Regions from separate parts of the Homo sapiens genome. Here all the other regions are linked to region 2. The links are contacts of gene promoters, found by promoter capture Hi-C in blood cells and fetal thymus (Javierre and others, 2016). All regions are on one chromosome and are shown on one strand. The core of a region is centred on a gene start or on the middle of the fragment in contact, and the rest is flanking DNA. Distances in the headings are between cores, read along the strand shown. Region 1 holds the start of LOC105373124 (a long non-coding RNA gene). Region 2 holds the start of WNT3A (Wnt family member 3A). Region 3 overlaps LOC124904538 (a long non-coding RNA gene). Region 4 overlaps OBSCN (obscurin, cytoskeletal calmodulin and titin-interacting RhoGEF). Region 5 has its middle 2.6 kb from the start of H3-4.

The links. The method cuts DNA at HindIII sites, captures the fragments that hold promoters and counts their contacts. A CHiCAGO score of 5 or more calls a contact.
Region 1: a contact is called between a fragment that was not itself captured here and the fragment with the promoter of WNT3A in region 2, in 1 of 17 cell types (M0 macrophages). The highest score is 7.3, in M0 macrophages.
Region 3: a contact is called between a fragment that was not itself captured here and the fragment with the promoter of WNT3A in region 2, in 4 of 17 cell types (M0 macrophages, M1 macrophages, endothelial precursors and 1 more). The highest score is 6.8, in M0 macrophages.
Region 4: a contact is called between a fragment that was not itself captured here and the fragment with the promoter of WNT3A in region 2, in 1 of 17 cell types (monocytes). The highest score is 5.2, in monocytes.
Region 5: a fragment that was not itself captured here is called in contact with the fragment with the promoter of WNT3A in region 2 in 1 of 17 cell types (monocytes); the score reaches 6.6 in monocytes.

Annotation. Positions count from the first base shown.
Region 1 is chr1:228,507,953-228,511,249 of GRCh38, forward strand. LOC105373124 (a long non-coding RNA gene) reads left to right here and starts at 95. Exons shown (of 3, transcript XR_949233.3): 1 at 95-170; 2 at 749-882; 3 at 1,939-2,180. It also overlaps the pseudogene BTNL10P. RefSeq lists an enhancer at 3,186-3,297. The HindIII fragment of the contact is 4,514 bases long and covers 1-3,297 here.
Region 2 is chr1:228,005,446-228,009,064 of GRCh38, forward strand. WNT3A (Wnt family member 3A) reads left to right here and starts at 1,553. Exons shown (of 4, transcript NM_033131.4): 1 at 1,553-1,754. The coding sequence starts at 1,684. The HindIII fragment of the contact is 11,751 bases long and covers 658-3,619 here.
Region 3 is chr1:228,438,186-228,441,935 of GRCh38, forward strand. It overlaps LOC124904538 (a long non-coding RNA gene), which reads right to left. Exons shown (of 2, transcript XR_007066919.1): 1 at 3,572-3,750. Among named protein-coding and RNA genes, the nearest start is that of H3-4, 15 kb to the left of the region's middle. RefSeq lists a silencer at 2,204-2,488. The HindIII fragment of the contact is 955 bases long and covers 1,211-2,165 here.
Region 4 is chr1:228,376,976-228,380,461 of GRCh38, forward strand. It overlaps OBSCN (obscurin, cytoskeletal calmodulin and titin-interacting RhoGEF), which reads left to right. Exons shown (of 116, transcript NM_001386125.1): 112 at 77-316; 113 at 514-737; 114 at 956-1,031; 115 at 1,296-1,445; 116 at 1,643-1,901. The coding sequence ends at 1,820. Among named protein-coding and RNA genes, the nearest start is that of TRIM11-AS1, 16 kb to the right of the region's middle. RefSeq lists an enhancer at 1,623-1,692. The HindIII fragment of the contact is 9,621 bases long and covers 1-3,486 here.
Region 5 is chr1:228,420,858-228,424,605 of GRCh38, forward strand. No RefSeq gene overlaps it. Among named protein-coding and RNA genes, the nearest start is that of H3-4, 2.6 kb to the right of the region's middle. The HindIII fragment of the contact is 529 bases long and covers 1,680-2,208 here.

The DNA of each region.
Region 1 (3,297 bases), core at 632-3,131, 500 kb after region 2:
GCAATTTTCCCGCCTCAGCCTCCCAAAATGCTGGATGACAGCTGCAAGCCACCACAAGCAACTCTGTCATAATGCAGTCTTTATAACCAGCTGAGCACAATCTCTACTCTCAAAATAGGGCTCTGAAGTCTAGGAACAAGTCCTCAGCTCCTGAAATGACAGAGGAGGAAGTGAGTGAAGTGAATGAATGAAGGACACAGTCAATATTGAGAATAATCACAGTGATTGCAACTGTAAACCCTCCCTGACGCGGCCTTGCTCTGAATGCTACTCTGTTGGTCTTTCAGGATGGTATCAGCACTCCCAGCAGACAGAGTGGCTCAGGGCTCACACCAGGTCCCTCAGCCCACACCCATCAGACTTGGGGTTCAAACTCAGATCTGTCTGTTTTCAAGACAGAGCCCAACCAGCCTGCCTGAAATCAGCCAGTGAAGACTTAATTGAGGGATTGCTAGGAGACAGATGGTCTCACTGGGTAGATCATAATCAGGCAATGCCAGAGGGAGGATCCCCACTGGCCACCCCATTCCTACTGTGTCTGAGGACACATGGACGAAGCCTCAGCTCAGGGCTTCGTGTTAGGGTCCTGGATTTGGGGTGGGGGGGCAGGATGTGCCTTGTCGGGGCTCCCTGCTCACCACGCCATGGCTCAGCCTTGTCGCTGCTGGTGGGCCGCCTCTGCTCCTTTTCTCTTCACTCCCTCTCTTCTTCCAGTGATGCTTTGTTCTTTTCCCTTTGACGTTTCCAGAAGATGCAGATGCCTCCAGCTATTACGAGTCCCATGGCAACAAGGATCAGAGGCAGAGCTGCTTTCCATGCCGTGAACTGGGAGCTTCTGGAGAAGGTAGCTGGAGAAGATTCCCAGAAGCCAGGAATATTGGGGTAAGAGAGTTTCTGTGTTCTGAGGTCAAACTTGCTAAAGAGTTCAGTAGTCCAGGGACATAATATTTGCAAATTACTGTGAAATAGTTTCCAAAATAGTATGTATTTGCACAGCTGGTCTATGGACCGAATGTCTGTGTCCCCCAAAGGGGTTGAAATCCCAACCCCTACGGTGATGATGTTAGGAGGTGAGGCCTTTGGGAAGTGATGAGGTCATGAGGGTGGAGCCCCTGTAACGGATATGATGGGAATGGTGCCCTTATAAAGGGGAGAGCCCAGAGAGCTCCCTCACCCCTTCCACCATGTGAGGACACAGTGAGAAGGCGCTGTCTATGAACCAGGAAGTGCCCTTGCCAGACACCAAATCTGCCACGCCTTGATCTTGGACTTCCCAGCTTACAAAACTGTGGGCAATAGCTATCTCTTGTTTCTAAGCCACCTGGTCTGTGGTATTTTGTTATAGGCACACAAATGGAGTAAGACAGTTGGGTTTAGACATATGCATAGGAAGTAGATATTAGATATCTATTTGTAGATAGACAAAGGGAGAAGTGATAAAAAGAAATATCGCAATAAGGTAAAAATATGGTGAATCTGAGTAAAGGGTGCACAGACAACTTTTCTATTAATCTTGCAAAGTTTCTGTAAGTTTGACATCATTTAGAAAAGTAAAAGTGAAAGTTTTTGTGAAAAGCTAAATTTGGAAACAACCAAGATATTTTTTAGTAGGTGAATGGATCAATAAACAGTGGTCCATCCAGATCCTGGAACGTTATTCATTTCACAAAAGAAACAAGTTATCAAGGCAGGAAAAGACATGGAGGAAACCTAAATGCGTACCACAAAGTGAGGGAAGTCAAAGTGAAGGGGCTACAGAGGCACCGTCCCAACTACAGGACATTCCAGAACACCTGGAAACTATGGAGACAGTGAAAACATCAGTGGTGGCCAGGAGTTAGGGGAGATGAATGAATGAGCGGAGCACGGAGGATTAAGGGCAGTGACATTATTTTGTATGATACTATGACAGATATGTGGCATTATATATTTATCTAGAACCATGGGACACCATGCCAAGAGTGAGCCCTCATGAAAACTGCACTCTGGGTGCTGACGGCATTGTCAACGGAAGTTCATCAAACATGGTGGACGTTCCTTCTGGTGTAGGGTTTTTATGCTGGGGGAAGGTGTGTGAGGGGGTTAGGGGAAGATGGGAACTCTCTGGACTTTCTACTAAAATTTGTTGTGACCCTAAAACTGCTTTAAAAAATAAAGCCTATTTTAAAAAACCCTAAAAACTGTTGATATTAGGATGTACATTTCTTGTTCCCCCAAAGGCAAGGCTCTCCCCAGGGTCCCTGCACCCTTATCTCTGTTCCTCTTCAGTAATCAGCACCCAAACAGTGCACCTCCTGGGATGCCCCAGCCATGTGAGGACAGGGACCTGCCACCCATCCCTGCTTGCCACAAACCCCACAGCTGTCTCTTAATGTCCCCAGTGTCCAGGGCCACGGAATCCTGTGCTCAGTGATTGTGAGGACAGAACTGAATAGAGGACTCACCGGGCAGGTGGCTCTCAGCCACCTTCCTCCTTTCAGGGAGGAGGGGGCTGGAGATGGAGCAGGAGAGACCCTCCACAGCCCTGTCCCAGAGCGTCAAGCTGGATGCCACAGCCCAGAGCCTGGTGGTGGCTGAGGCTGATAGATTGGTCACAGCAGGCCTAGCCTGGCCCCTGAAGTCTCTCCGTTCCACCCAGGACTTGGGGAAACAGCCTGCTGATGTGCACTCCGCCCTGACTCCATCCTGCTGGTCTGTCACCTGGATTCTGGGCTCTCTGCCCAGCCCTGAAGGAAGAGACAGCAGCTTGAATCTTTGCAGCCATGGCTGCTTCTATTTAAAGGAAAAACAAAATCTTGAGGATTTCCAATGTATTTTGGCAATTTCACAAACTGCCTACCCTGTGTTACACACCATCCCTAACAGAGTTCCCCATTTCCCAGACAAAAGAAGGGAAGCAAAGTGGAAAAGGTCCAGGAAGATTGAATAGGCATCCTGTGTTGCAGAAGTAGAATTCATGGCACAAGATGGGACCCAGGCTTGTCTGTTTCGAAGCACAAGTTCTGAGTCACTCGGGAAACCTCCCGTATCTGAAGACTCTCTTCTCTCTCTTGGCCTTTCTGTCTCCTGTCATTATTTCTCTGTCTCTCTCTTCCTCCCACTCTCTGTTGCTTACTGTCTTTCTCATTTTCTTTTACTGTCTCTCTGTCTCTGTCTCTATCTCCCTCTCTCTGTCACTGACTCTGTCTCTTTGTCTCTTTCATTCTCTCTGTGTTTCTCTCAGTTTCTCATTCTCTCTGTCTCTCTCCATCTCTGTCTCTCCTGTCTTTCATTCTCTGTCTCTGCCTGTCCCTCCCT
Region 2 (3,619 bases), core at 303-2,802:
AGGCTGTCACTCTGAATTCAGGACTCCTGACATAGTCACCAGGTGACCCCTAGGGCCGGTGTCCACAGGACCACAGGCTCCCTCTGCAAACGCAGAACCAAGTTGTGAGTGGGGCACACTGTGGGAAGCAGCTGCCTCCATCAGCCAGCCAGTGACACACCTGGGGACATCTCAGCCACCCCCTCCCTGAGAAGCTGCACAGAAGCGGCCACATGCCCATCCCTGCCTCTCCATGCACCTCCCTCCCGCAACTCTGCAGCCGCACAGGAGGCCTAGCCCACAGGCTGGGCAGTGCAGTATCCCCAGAGAACACACCACGGATGAGTCTGGAGTTGCTTGGAGCTCTCAGAAGCTCCCGGAGCCTCCTTCCTCAATTCCAACGCGGTAACCAAGATTCCTGCTGAGCTTAGGTCACAGTGTGACTGCAGGAGGACCAGCCGCGATGGGAGAGTGCCTCTTAACCATCCCAGTTATCAGGTCCCCCGGGGGAGGCTGGGGACACTTCCCCTCTGCAAATTACAATCTCCCCAGGCGGCTCCCGGGGCAACACATGGATATGCAAATGACTGGGAGCTGGAGAGTTGACTGGTCACTGGGTGACCTTGGGCAAGTCACTTTCCCTCTCAGGTCTTCCCCTCTCCATCAGCAAACTCCTAAAGCTTAACTAAACAGTCAGAAATCCCTCTGTCGGAACAGGCTGCATAGCTCTGGGCAGACCTGGAGGTTGGTGGTCCCAGAACCTGGGGGCAGCACTGCGCTTCCCCACCGTCCCATCGCGTCAGGGGCTTCCACTGTTCTCTTCCCTGGTGGAGTGATGGGGAGAAAAATGGAGGGGTCAATCCCTGCGCCACAGAGAGAGTCCCACTCGTCCCCAGCTGTGACCCACAGACGCGTGGCTGCACCTTGGAGGTCCACCTGGCCGCTGTCCCCATTGCAGGCTGCACCCATCCCGGACCCTTTCTATCCGCCGAAGGCGCAGGCAGCTCTGGTCTCAGCGGAAGGAGTCCGGCCGCAGGCAGACGGGGCCAAAGGACGTGCACCCGACAACCGTCCGCTCCCTCCCCAAACCCCCGCCCCGAGAAGGTTGATGGATGAAGGGGAGCCCTAGCCCAGCCACCTCGGGGGCAAGAGACGGAGCTCGCCACAGACCAGGAGCGAGAGGGGGACTGCGGGTCCCACCGTGAGCGCAGGGCGCGCGGGGCTGGAAACCCAGGACGCGGCCCGGGAGCTCCAGGAGGGCGCCTGCGGATCGCGCGGCCCCGGGCCGGCCGCCTGCCCATCTGGCGCACCCCAGCGCGCCGCGCACACCTGGGGGCCCGCACACCAGCACGTCCTCAGACACACCGACACCCACGGCAGCAGGCGGGGGCCAACGCCGCCGCCGCGGTTCGGGCTCCCGTGGCCCCGCCTGCCCCTGCCTGCCCCGCCCGGGCCCCGGCCCCGGCGGGCGCCCCCCGCGGCGCTGCCCCGCCCCCGCCGCCCCGCGCCGCCCCGGGCCTCGGCCCGCAGCCCGGCCGCCGGCCCACCTGGCGCAGCGCCGCCCTCGGAGCCCGCGCACACCCGCGCACCCGCGGCCGCAGGAGGGCCCAGCGACGCCGCCGCGCCAGCTCCCAGGGCCCGGCCCCCCCCGGCGCTCACGCTCTCGGGGCGGACTCCCGGCCCTCCGCGCCCTCTCGCGCGGCGATGGCCCCACTCGGATACTTCTTACTCCTCTGCAGCCTGAAGCAGGCTCTGGGCAGCTACCCGATCTGGTGGTGAGTGAGCCTCCTCGCGTTCGCCCCTGCCCCTGTGCGCCGCGCCCGCAGCAGACGGTCCCCTCGGGCAGGGACCCCGCGGTGGCCCGAGCCCGCGCCCTTCTGCTCCAGCCCCGCGTGCGGGCCGCGGGCGGTTGGTTTTCCTTGACGGCCACTTTGGACCTGTTCAGGCCGCTGGGACGCGTGGGTGGCGGAGTTTCCGGAGACATTGATTCCCGAGCGGGGGAGTAGGGGAGGTTGCGGAGGTCCTAGCTGCCCCTGGCGTCGGACAGGGCGAGCAGTGGGCTGGGGAGAGGCTGAAAGAAGGTCGGCACGCACGGTCACCGAGGGGACAGGCAGCTCGAGGCCAGGGGACAGGCGAGGGAAGAGGGCCAGCGAGAGAGAATTCGCCGGAGACTTTCCTCAAAAACCGTATCTTACACACAAACACACACACACGTTTTAAAACAAAGTCGATGAGACAAGACTGAACAGCTCGGAGCAGCGTGGTTACGTAAAGAAAGCTGGGACCCGGCGGGGAGTGGCGCAGAGCCGGCGGCGGGGCGCACTGGGGGCCGGCCCTGGGCCCCGCGCGCCTCCCCGCCGCAGTCCGGGCACGGGGGTTTCCAGGGGCCCTCTCTGCGAGCCCTCCGCATGGGTCCACCTGGCAATGAGGGGCTGCTGTAGAGAGAGTTAAGGGTGAGTTAAGCACGGGGTGTGAGGGGCTCCAGGACCCTCAATCAGAAAGCGCTGTGCTGCGCCCTCCACACCAGAAAAGGCGCGTTCCGTGAGACCCTCCCCAGCCTGGCGATGGAAGTGCAGATAAACCAAAGGAAGGGTCCCGAAAGGTCTCTCTCAGGCCTCCCACCTCCACTGCACATATCCTGTGGGAGGGGGAACGGTGGCCACACTTTCGCCAGGGCTTGTGATCCCTCAGAGCCCTCACCAAGCAAGGATCACCCCAGTTCCGAATTAAGGGCGCTCTGAGATGCCCAAGATTGAGGAACACAAGTGGGAGGAATGTGGGCGCGCAGGGCCGGGCGCAGCGCTGGTAGGACCCACAGTTGGAGAGAAGCCTCCCCACAAGCATGCACACTCCCCCCCATCCTTCTCCGACGGCAGCCTGGAATTATAATAATTACGCCGAGGGGAAGGGGGGAGACCCAGCGAGCCGAGGTACATCTAATCCGATAATAATTTTTCTCTTCGAGATGGTTCAGGAGCGGGGGCTCCCGCGGTAGGGGCGCCGGGCCAGGAGCAGCGGGGAGGGGAAGGGGCAGCCCTAGGCAGCTGAAGGGCCTGGAAGAGGCCACGAGGCCGCGGGGACGCGCTTCGGGGACCCCCGCGCGCCCCTATTTCCGCGTGCCCCATTTCCCGTGCGGCACCTGCTGCGCCCAGTGGCCCACCTGAGGGTCAGGCTCGGGGCTCGCCTTGGGGTGCGGGGATACTGACGCGCGTCCAGACGGCCGCAGGGAGCCAGGGGCAGCGCGTCCGTCCGAGAGAGCCCCGAGGGCTGCCGGCTTACGCACCAGGCTTCTAATTAGAACCCGCCGCCGCGTTCCTGAGCGCAAAAGGAAGCTCCTTCGCCCCGCGCCCTTCCCATAAATGTCGCCAGCCTCCTGGCAACCCCGCGCCCTAGGATCTTTGTCTTGTCGGCCCTGAGGGTTCCTAGCCTCGGTCCCCATCCACCTCATATGCATGTATACCTCCTTTTCACCTGGGCCCCCTGTGTTCTACCCTGAATGGACCCTGAGACACCCTCGGGGACAGTCAGGCATTCTGCAGGGGAGCCAGGAGGAGCAGAGAAGTGAAGTCCCTGTACCCTCCGCACCCTCCTATCAAGAGTCCAGGACAGCCCTTTGGCCACACAGGGAAGCGGGGCATAG
Region 3 (3,750 bases), core at 438-2,937, 430 kb after region 2:
CAAATCCTTGTCATAATAATTCATTATTCTTCATTCCACACTCAACGTACATTGCTCTTGAAAGATAGGAGAATATCCTCCCCAAAGGATACCACCCCCTCCCCAAAGGATGCCACACCCTCCCCAAAGGATGCCACCCCTCCACAAAACAATGCCACACCCTCTCCAAAGGATGCCACCCCTCCCCAAAGGATGCCATACCCTCCCCCAAACGATGCCACACCCTCTCCAAAGGATGCCATACCCTCTTCAAAGGATGCCACCCCTCTTCAAATGACACCACTCCCTCCCCAGATGATGCCACACCCTCTCTGAAGGGTGCCACCACCTCTCCAAAGGATACCACACCCTCTCCAAAGGATGCCACCCCCTCTCCAAAGGATGCCACACCCTCCCCAAAGGATGCCACACCCTCCCCAAAGGATGCCACTCCTCTCCAAAGGATGCCACACCCTCCCCAAAGGATGCCACCCCTCCCCAAAGGGTGCCGTGCCCTCCCCAAAGGTTGCCACCTCTCTCCAAAGGATGCCACACACTTTCCAAAGGATGTCATACCCTCTCCAAAGGATGCCAGCCCTTCCCAAATGATGCCACCCCTCCCCCAAAGATGCCACACCCTCTTCAAAGGGTGCCACCCCTCCCCAAACAATGCCACCCCCTCCCCAAAGGATGCCAACTCTCCCCAAACAATGCCACCTCTCCTCAAAAATGCCACACCTTCTCCAAAGGATGCCACCCTTCCTCAAACGATGCTATCCCCTCCCCAAAGGATGCCAGCCCTCCTCAAACGATGCTACCCCCCTCCAAAGGATGCCACCCCTCCCCAAATGATGCCACCCAAAGGATGCCCCCTCCTCTCCAAAGGGTGCCATTCCCTCCCCAAATGATGCCACCGACTCTCCAAAGGATGGCACCTCCTCTGTAGAGTGTGCTATCCCCTCCCGAAAGGATGCCACCCCCTCCAAAGGATGCCACCCCTTCCAAAATGATGCCACACCCTCTCCAAAGGATGCCACCCCCTCCTTAAACAATGCCACCCCTCCCCAAAGGATACCACCCTCTCTCCAAAGGAAGCCACCCATCTCTAAAAGGTGCCACCCCCTCCTCAAGGGATGCCACCTCTTCCCCAAAGGATGCCACTTTGGCACAAGGATTATTTGGAGCTGAAGGCCAATAATAATCCATTGTTGAGAAACAACGGATGTAAAAAAGCTTTCTGCTTGCCCCTATTTTCCTAAAAGCAGGACAAAATGGACAAAGTTGTCTTTGCCTCTCCACCAGGAAGGAATCAATTTAATCATGTGAGATGATTTTAGATGCTTATCAGCCAGGAGACAGCACCAGTGAAATCTACATGCCAGGCCTTAACTCGCCGGCCCTCTCCACCACTGCTTCTCATAACTCCCCTCCTCCACATCTTTCACTGTTCGCCTTAGCTGAAGGCACTACACAGGCCGGAGTTCTCTAGCTGAACTAAGGAAAAGTCCTGCAGCAACAGTATTTGTTAGAATGTTGGGGTGCTCAGGCCTCCAAAACAGAACCTATCTCTCCGACCTTCTCCCACCCTCCTTTTACCTACTCGTTTTGCTCCCCAGGCAGGCCACAGAAATGAAAACTGTAGTCTTTCCCCACCTTTCTGTCTCGGACCTGGCCATAAGGACATTTTCTGACTTCCCTTTTCTGATTGTGGGTCATAAGACTCCCAGTTCAGAGAGGGTCCTGCCCCATACCCAGGAGGAAGGATGCTGCCCAGAGAGGCCAAGAAGAGTCTGAACACATGGGCTCTGCTGGGGTTCCCCGCTCAGTCTGTTGGGGTTACATCCACACTTTCTGTCCGGTCACATTTCTACATGGCTGTCTTCTATCATGTCCATCCAATGAAGTCTCCATAAAAGGCCCAAGGGGACAGGTTTTGGGGGCTTCTGGAGGGCTGAACTCGTGGGGGCTTGCAGGAAGGGTGAGGGAGAATTCATTTGCAGGCTGGGAGGGTGGCGCAGCCCAACTCCGCTGGGTCAGAAGGCCCTGCGCTTGGACCTTTGCAGAACTCTCCCTCTGCATTCCTTCATCTGGCTATTTATTTGTAGCCTTAAACTATTCTTTAAATAAACAGGTAAATGTAAGTAAGTGTTTCTCTAGTTTTATGAGCTGCTCTAACAAATTAATCAAGCTTAAAGAGGGAGTCGAGGGAACTCCAAGTTACAGCTGGTCAGAAGTTCTGGAGGCTTGGACTTGCCCATGGTGTCTGAAGTAGAGGCAGCCTCGGGGACTGAGCCCTCAACCTATAGGATCTGATGCAATCTCCAGGTAGATACTGTCAGAATTTGTTTATTTATTTAGTTTTTTTATTGTTATGATTATTTGAGATGGGGTCTTGCTCTGTTGCCGAGGCTGGAATGCAGTGGTGAGACCCTAGCTCACTGCAGCCTGGAACTCCTGGGCTCAAGCAATCCTACTTCAGTCTCCTGAGCAGCTGGGACTACAGGCATGCACCATCGTGCTCAGCTACTTATTTCATTCTTGTAGAGACAGAGTCTTGCTATGTTGCCCAGACTGGTCTCCAGTTCCTGGGCTCAAGCAATTCCCTCCCACCTCTGCCTCCCAACGCTGGGATTACCAAGGCATGAGCCACTGTGCCTGGCTGAAGTCGGAATTAAATTGGGTTCAAGGACACCTAACTGGTGCCCACTAAAACATTGGTTGCTTGCTTGCTTGCTGATAGGGAGAAATCCTCACATGTTTGGTCACAGATGTCTTCTGTGTTCATTGTTGTGTTGTGAGATCAGAGGAAAAACAGTTGTTTTTTTTCTACATCAGAGGACACAAATATTCAGACCATAGCAGCTGTGGCAGGAATTTGCTGTTCTATTCCAGCCAACACCTGAAGACTGGTCCAGGCTCTTCCTTTCCTAGAGCATTTACTGAAACCAGCTCACAACTGGGAATGCTTCCTTTGGCGTGTTGAGATGTCCATGTGTCTCCTACAATCTAGCAGTGGCTCCTCGAGGAACCCAGAGCCATTCCTTTGAAACCAGGAGGGAGAAGGCCTTAGTCTCTGCCAGAAGGTAGAATCCTGACTTTGGGCCTGGCTGACTAGCAGACACAGATGGTCTCATCTGATTGGCACGGAGCCCCCGCTCACCCCATCTCCTTCCCTTTAAGACACCCCGCCACCCCTACACAAATTACAATGGAGGCGACTCTGTACTGACTGCAGCTGGCACTGAATGGAAATCTGTTTTCACTGCTTTAATGTCCAGCTTTATCTTTGCGTTAACTGAAAAAATCACAGGATCTATAAATTGGAAAAGCAGATTTCACTTCTTGTAGAGGGTTACAGCCTGCAAAGTGGCCATCCCTCGGGCAGGGAAGCACAGCCTTGGCCAAACCCAGTGCCTGGGCCAAGCCCAGGCACTTTGGGGGAGGGAGGAGTTGGGGCAGGAGCTCTGTGCTTGTTTGGCTTTGCCAAACACACATATTCCACAGCCTACGGGAGGACTATGGAGATCCATGAGGGTAGCCTTCACACATGTTCACGGAACACACATGCACATGACATGTGATGCATGCTTACCTTGAGGTGGAGGCTTCACATGTAAATGTATTCCAATTAGGTCTTTCCAGGACTCAAAGGTGCTCAAGTGCACAGCGTCTGTAAACTGGCCAGGACTAGCCCAAGGTCGTGGTCTCTCATCAGCAGAAAGCTCTTGAAGTCAGTGTCTTGTCCAGTGAATGCTGCCATCATGGCTGGTG
Region 4 (3,486 bases), core at 675-3,174, 370 kb after region 2:
CCTGCTGCTCTGAGTGTTGGGAATCGGGGAATGGGAGGGGACCACCCACCAGCCTGACCGCTGTCCCCTTGAGCAGGGGCCGCTTCAGCGTGGTGCGGCAATGCTGGGAGAAGGCCAGCGGGCGGGCGCTGGCCGCCAAGATCATCCCCTACCACCCCAAGGACAAGACAGCAGTGCTGCGCGAATACGAGGCCCTCAAGGGCCTGCGCCACCCGCACCTGGCCCAGCTGCACGCAGCCTACCTCAGCCCCCGGCACCTGGTGCTCATCTTGGAGCTGTGCTCTGGGCCCGAGCTGCTCCCCTGCCTGGCCGAGAGGTGAGGGTGGCCTGGGGTGGTGTGGTTGAGCTGATGGACGGACTGATGGACTGATGGACCCAGGCCTCTGGGGTGGGGCTGGAGGACCAGGCCCCTCTGCACAGCCAGTGCCCCTCCCAGTCCACGGGGAGTAGTCTCAGCCCTGGCCCTGGTGGCCCCCACCCCGGAGCCTGGGCTGAGCAGCTTCTGCCCCCCAGGGCCTCCTACTCAGAATCCGAGGTGAAGGACTACCTGTGGCAGATGTTGAGTGCCACCCAGTACCTGCACAACCAGCACATCCTGCACCTGGACCTGAGGTCCGAGAACATGATCATCACCGAATACAACCTGCTCAAGGTCGTGGACCTGGGCAATGCACAGAGCCTCAGCCAGGAGAAGGTGCTGCCCTCAGACAAGTTCAAGGACTACCTAGAGACCATGGGTGCGTGTGTGGACAGTTGGGGGGACCTCACCTGGGGCGGGGGGCAGGAAGAAGCCCCCTCTCCTCCAGTGCTGTCCTCTCTCCCAGCTCCACTGCCACCCACTCAGCCACACACCTGGCCCACACACCTGTGCCCCACCTATCCCACCTGGGACCACTCACTCATGCCCACCACCTGTGTCCCTCCACCTGAGCCCAACCACATGTGCCCCTCCCAGCTCCAGAGCTCCTGGAGGGCCAGGGGGCTGTTCCACAGACAGACATCTGGGCCATCGGTGTGACAGCCTTCATCATGTGAGTCCTCCAACCTGTCTGGGGGTTGCTAGGTGGGCGGGGCAGTCTCCCCCCTCCACCCGAGGGTGACCTCAGGGCCCCTGCACCCCCGTCCACCTGAGGGTGACCTCACGGCCCCTGCACCCTCGTCCACCCGAGGATGACCTCACGGCCCCTGCACCGGCCACCCGAGGGTGACCTCAGTGCTCCTGCATCCCCTCCCCCTCCGCCCTGGTCTACCCAAGGAGGGTGACCTCAGGGCCCGTGCACCCGCCACCTGCGCAGGCTGAGCGCCGAGTACCCGGTGAGCAGCGAGGGTGCACGCGACCTGCAGAGAGGACTGCGCAAGGGGCTGGTCCGGCTGAGCCGCTGCTACGCGGGGCTGTCCGGGGGCGCCGTGGCCTTCCTGCGCAGCACTCTGTGCGCCCAGCCCTGGTAAGGCGCGCCCCTCTCCTCCTCCTTCTCCCCGCCCCCTCCTCCCGTCCCGCCCCCTCCTCCTTCCGTCCCGCCCCGCCCCGCCCCCCCACTCCCTTTCCCCTCGGTACTCTCCCTTCCCCCTCTCCCCTTTTCCACTTGCCTTCCCCACACCCCTCCCGCCGCTGGGCCACGTGCTGAGCCTATGTCCGTCCCAGGGGCCGGCCCTGCGCGTCCAGCTGCCTGCAGTGCCCGTGGCTAACAGAGGAGGGCCCGGCCTGTTCGCGGCCCGCGCCCGTGACCTTCCCTACCGCGCGGCTGCGCGTCTTCGTGCGCAATCGCGAGAAGAGACGCGCGCTGCTGTACAAGAGGCACAACCTGGCCCAGGTGCGCTGAGGGTCGCCCCGGCCACACCCTTGGTCTCCCCGCTGGGGGTCGCTGCAGACGCGCCAATAAAAACGCACAGCCGGGCGAGAAGTCTTCCGTCTCGTTGCATTATTTTCTTTTGGGGAGGAGAGGGAGTGAGGGCTCTGTCCCCGCCTTTCTGGCTGGGGCGCCGATCAGGCTGCCCCGCTGTGTTTGGGCCTGTGAGCCCCTTAGAAGGCGTCCTTAGGGGTCGCTCCCTCACTCCGATGCTCCGCGCGTTCAGCCCCTCGGGGCGTCTCCGTCCTCACACCCATGCGCGTTTATTCCACCCGCCGTGCGCCTTCCTCTCTTCCATCACGCTGACCTGCAGCCCCGCAGCCCGCTTTCTCCGCCGTCGGGCCAGCCGCTTGTTTCCACAACTTCTCTGCCCCGGGAAGAGTTCTTGGGCAAAGCGTGCAAGCGAGGGCGAGAAGCCGCGGGCCACGATCCGCTGGAGGAGAGGAGGCTTCAGAGTCGCTGGCGCGTGGCCTCGGTGAAAAGCAACCCAGTGTTTGAGATTCCATGGGCAATGACTACGCTGGCCGAGCCCCGCCCTGCCCCTTGCCAGGAGTGCAGGAAGCCTGGGCCGTGGGGTGCGCGCGTTGTCTCTCAAACGCTGCTGAATGTCCTTTCTCCTATTCTTTGACGTGGGAAAGGGAACTTGAGATAGGTGCAGCCCAGGAGACCTGGGAGCTGGCAGGGAGGGCCTTCTCCTCTTGCACATAAAACCTTTTGCAGAGGTCCCTCAGACACAAGGCCAGGCCCCTCATACCTATGTCTAAGCATAGATGGAGAGGAGGCTAACCGACCCCTCTTGGCTAAAATGGGTCATGCTGATTCCTGGCCAGCTTAGATTTATGGGGACATCCAGTGATGGAGTTGTCCTGGCTCTCTCTGACAGCATGCAACCCAGAATGAGGCCCGGTTGTTTTAAACACTCCTTTTAATCACCAAAACAGTCAGCTCTTCATAGCATCCTCTTCTCGAGCAGCCCCAGGGTTCCCGGGGTGGGGATATGATCTCCACTGTCCCCAGCAACAAGGCTGACGTTGGACGACAGCTTCGTTCCTGGGGGGCTGGGGCTGCAGGGTGTAGACAGCAGTCTCTACCCTCCTGATTCTCAGCTCATCTCAGGGGCCCAATGACGACCACATGCTGATGGGTCCATTCTGCAATGTCCAAATGCTGAACACCTCCCCTGAAATCTTACTGAGCCCAGGACACTTTGAATCAAAATCCAAGCATCGGCCAGGCACAGTGGCTCACACCTGTAATCCCAGCACTTTGGGAGGCTGAGGTAGGAGGATCACTGGAGCCCAGGAGTTCAAGACAAGCCTGGGCAATAATAGGGAGACTCTTGTCTCTACAAAAAATAAAAAATTAGCTTGGCATGGTGGTGCATGCCACCAGCATGGTACCAGCTACTCGGGAGGTGAGCCCAGAGGTCAAGGCTGCAGTGAGCTGTGATTGTGCCACTGCACTCTAGCCTGGACCACAGAGCAAGACCCTGTCTCTAAAAAGAAAACAAACATCTTCTAACTTGAACTGACTGCCCTCACTCCCTCTGCCCCCACACTGCCTCTGACTTTACCTTCCTCCTCCTTTACGACCTCCTGAGAGTCAGCATGTCACCACTCAATGCATCACAAAGGGTACA
Region 5 (3,748 bases), core at 694-3,193, 420 kb after region 2:
TTGGCCTCCCAAAGTGCTGGGATTACAGGCATGAGCCACTCTACCTGGCGATAAGAGCTACTTTAACAAAGCCTGTTTGTATACATTTTGCTGCACTTCAGTCCCCATGCCTAGTCATGCTGTTTCTCCCTGCTGGTAGAGGCAAGCACCTTTCCCATGGAGGGTTCATCACCTGCTTTCAGGAAAAGGGGTCAGAGGGCCCTTCTTACACCTGCTGTTCTTCAAGTGCCTTCAGCTCAAAATAATTCTTATATCAAATCTGCATATTTTGGGGAGGTCTATTCTGCTATCTTGTTGGGAGCTGAAAGCCTGAGGGTCGTGACCAACTCAGCATTCCACTGGAGGCTATATGACTAAACAGCAAACTGTTTATCATGAATGCAGGATGTGGGCAAACTCGCATCTGTGCCTGCCACCAGAAGGTACGCTGAGGGCCTCATTCCCTGGCTCTGTGCTCCTTGAGGTTATCTACTGGGACATCTGGAGCCTACTGTTCAAAGAATGCAGTCATGCAGGCCTGCACTAAGTCAAGCAGCTGACCACAACCACCCCCTTATCCCTGTCTCCTTTACTTAATAAGAAGGGCTCTAGAAGCTCAGGGCCCTTGTTCACTAGAAGCAAGGAGCCCCCTGACCCCTTTTTCCAAATATACTCTTTTGTCTTTGTCTTTATTCCCACTTTTGTCCTCCTTTGTTCAGTCCACCAAGGCCCATAGCACTATCTCTTAATGCCTAACTCTCCTTTCTATTATTTCTGGAATTTTAACTTTTTGATATTTAGAACCACTCTTTCCACTTTTATAAACACTGCATGCTCAGGCTACCTCCATAGTGTACATGCGCTCGAAGAGTTGAGTACACAGTGAACAGATATCCACATTTCAGTTACTATCTCACATCGTTAGAACCCACAGGATACAGAAGCAAAGGCTCTGGTCGTAATTGTAAGGGTCTGGCTCTGTTGCCCAGAATGGAGTGCAGTGGTGTGATCACGGCTTACTGCTCACTGTAACCTGGAACTCTTGGGCTCAAGCGATCTTCCCACCTCAGCCTTCTAAGTAGTTAAGACCACAGGCACACGCCATCATGCCCAGATAATTTTTGTATTTTTTGTAGAGACAGAGTCTTGCCATGTTGTCCAGGCTGGTCTTGAACTCCTTGGCCTCAAGAAATCCTCCCATCTCAGCCTCCCAAAAAGCTGGGATTATAGGCATGAGCCACTATGCCTGGCTGGAAAGACTTCCTCAAGTGCCCACTTACACGACCCAGAAAGACTTCAGTTACTTTTTTCCTGTGTCTAAACTTCCTTCCTTAGCTCCTCACCTTAGGTCCTCAGCAATCAGTTCTGAGATACAAATTGCCCTGTATTGCCTTGCTGTATCTTTATAGGGCACAATTAGTGCACTATCCACTCCATTAATCAGTGAAAACAAGGAACATATAAGGCCAAGCTCTTGTTTTTTGTTGTTGTTGTTGTTGTTTTTGTTATTGTTGTTGTTTTTGACAGGGTCTGTTGCCCAGATTGGCCTCAAAAACTCCTGGGCTCAAGCCATCCTCTCGCCTCCCCAGTAGCTAGGATTACAGGCATGTGCCACACTGCCCAACTTAGACTCTGTTCTTCATACAAAGACCAGAATGACAGGGGGCTGCTTAAGTGGCTTGGTCTCCTACAGAAGGCAAAGCTTGATCATGATCCTGTCAAGAATGCATTATCTGCATCCAGTTCCGCAAATGTAGCTAACTGCCCAAATTCCTGCTCCCTCCAGGCTATCCAGCAAGATCATCAGCAAGGTTACATAGGTTTAGCTCTCCACCACTGGGCAAGACTTTGTTAGGACAAGGGCTTTGTAAAGCACAGAAGACTTGAACTTCACCTGCTCGGGAGGCTAAGGCAGGAAGATGGCTTGAGCCCAGGAGTTCAAGGCTGGCCACTATGCTCACGTCTGTGAATAGCCACTGTACTCTAGCCTGGGCAGCATGGCAAGACCCTGTCTCTGAAAAAACAAAACAAAAAGGGAAAACTTAAATTTATCCCAAAGGAGTCTAGTATTGAAAGTCAGAGCTGACTTTCAAAACCAGAACATAGCTGTCCCTGAATATTCTAGGCTTTCTGGATAGCCCTCCAAGGATCTGGCACTCATAAGTTTAAATACATCCTGAGATTTAAAGGGTATGATGTTCAGTTGTGTGTGTACTAATAAATTGATGAAGCTTTTGAATTTTGAGTCAACAGGCTATAAATTGGGTTCAAAGAGACTTATAAAATCCACTGTTGCCTATTGATAGCACTTTATGCACATCCCTTGCTATGTATAAGAGCACCTTTTACTATCATTGCTTCTACACACAATACAGGCCCCCTTCACTCAAGCATAAGCACCTTGAAAGCAGAGTGGGCAGCAGCCACAGGAAATGGATTTTATTCCCTCCATGATCCCAGCATGGGGTAGTGCTTGGCCTCATTCAATTTAATAAAGCCTTTCACAAATAAATGATTCCAACCTGTACCAGAGGGAGACAATCCCTACATCCTTATCCTCACAGCCATCCTCAGGTTTTCCTGACATAAGTCTACTATTGGATCTGTGGCCTGCTGCCCTAGCTGTAGGATTTCTCAGCAAGTTGGTCTCTGTGTCTCTCATCCCCAGAGCACTGCCAGACTACTTTGTGGCGCTGGGAAGCCTGTTTCAAAGTGCTGGGCACATGGGCCACGCCTGTCTGCGACTGCTCAGTAAACTGACTTCCAGGGCAGAGTGCCCTCTTTGAACTTTGGGCTGGGGTTTCCCAGTATTGATTTCACTTAGGAATTAACAATGCACATGCCTAGCTGGGCTTCTCACACACAACTAGCTAGTCATCTACCCTAACAGAAGACAGGGTGAATTTACAACATACATGACTAGCCAGCCTTTTAACTGAATGGGAGATTGGGTATGTTAACACATACAATGAGATGGACTTCTAACCCGAGATGGGCCAACACCACAGCTACATATGTGTGCACATGGGTGCACGTGCACACACACACACCCCTAGCCAGCCTTCTAACCTAATGGGAGATAGCCCAAGTTAAAAAGATACACAACTAGCCAGCCTTCTAAATTAACAGGAGGTAGGCTGAGTTAAAACACACAAGTAGCTGGACTTTTTTTTGTTTTTTTTTTTGAGATTGAGTCTCGTTCTGTTGCCCACGCTGCAGTGCAGTGGCATGATCTTGGCTCACTGCAACCTCCGCCCCCTGGGTTCAAGCAGTTCTCCTGCCTCAGCCTCCCAAGTAGCTGGGATTACAGGTATGCGCCACCAAACCCGGCTAATTTTAGAGATGGGGTTTCACCATGTTGGCCAGGCTGGTCTGGAACTCCTGACCTCAGGTGATACACCCGCCTCGGCCTCCCAAAGTGCTGGGATTACAGGCGTAAGCTGCTATGCTGGTGAAGTAGCTGGACTTCTAACTTAAAATAGGCCAAGATAATACATACTACTTGCTGGCCTTAACAGGAGATGGGCTGTCAAGGCAGAAGACTAGCTGGACTGGTAACCTCACTGGAAACAAGCTGCGTGTACACACACACACACACACGCAGGACTTCTAACCTAATTTGAAAGAGGCTGAGCTGAGAACACACAAGACCAGCCAGCCTTCCAACCTAACTGTAGATAGGCTGAGTTGACACAACTAGCTGGGGTTGCTTACCTAACTGGAGATAGACCAATTAGGCTACCCTCAACACCCCGTCCCCAAAACAGAC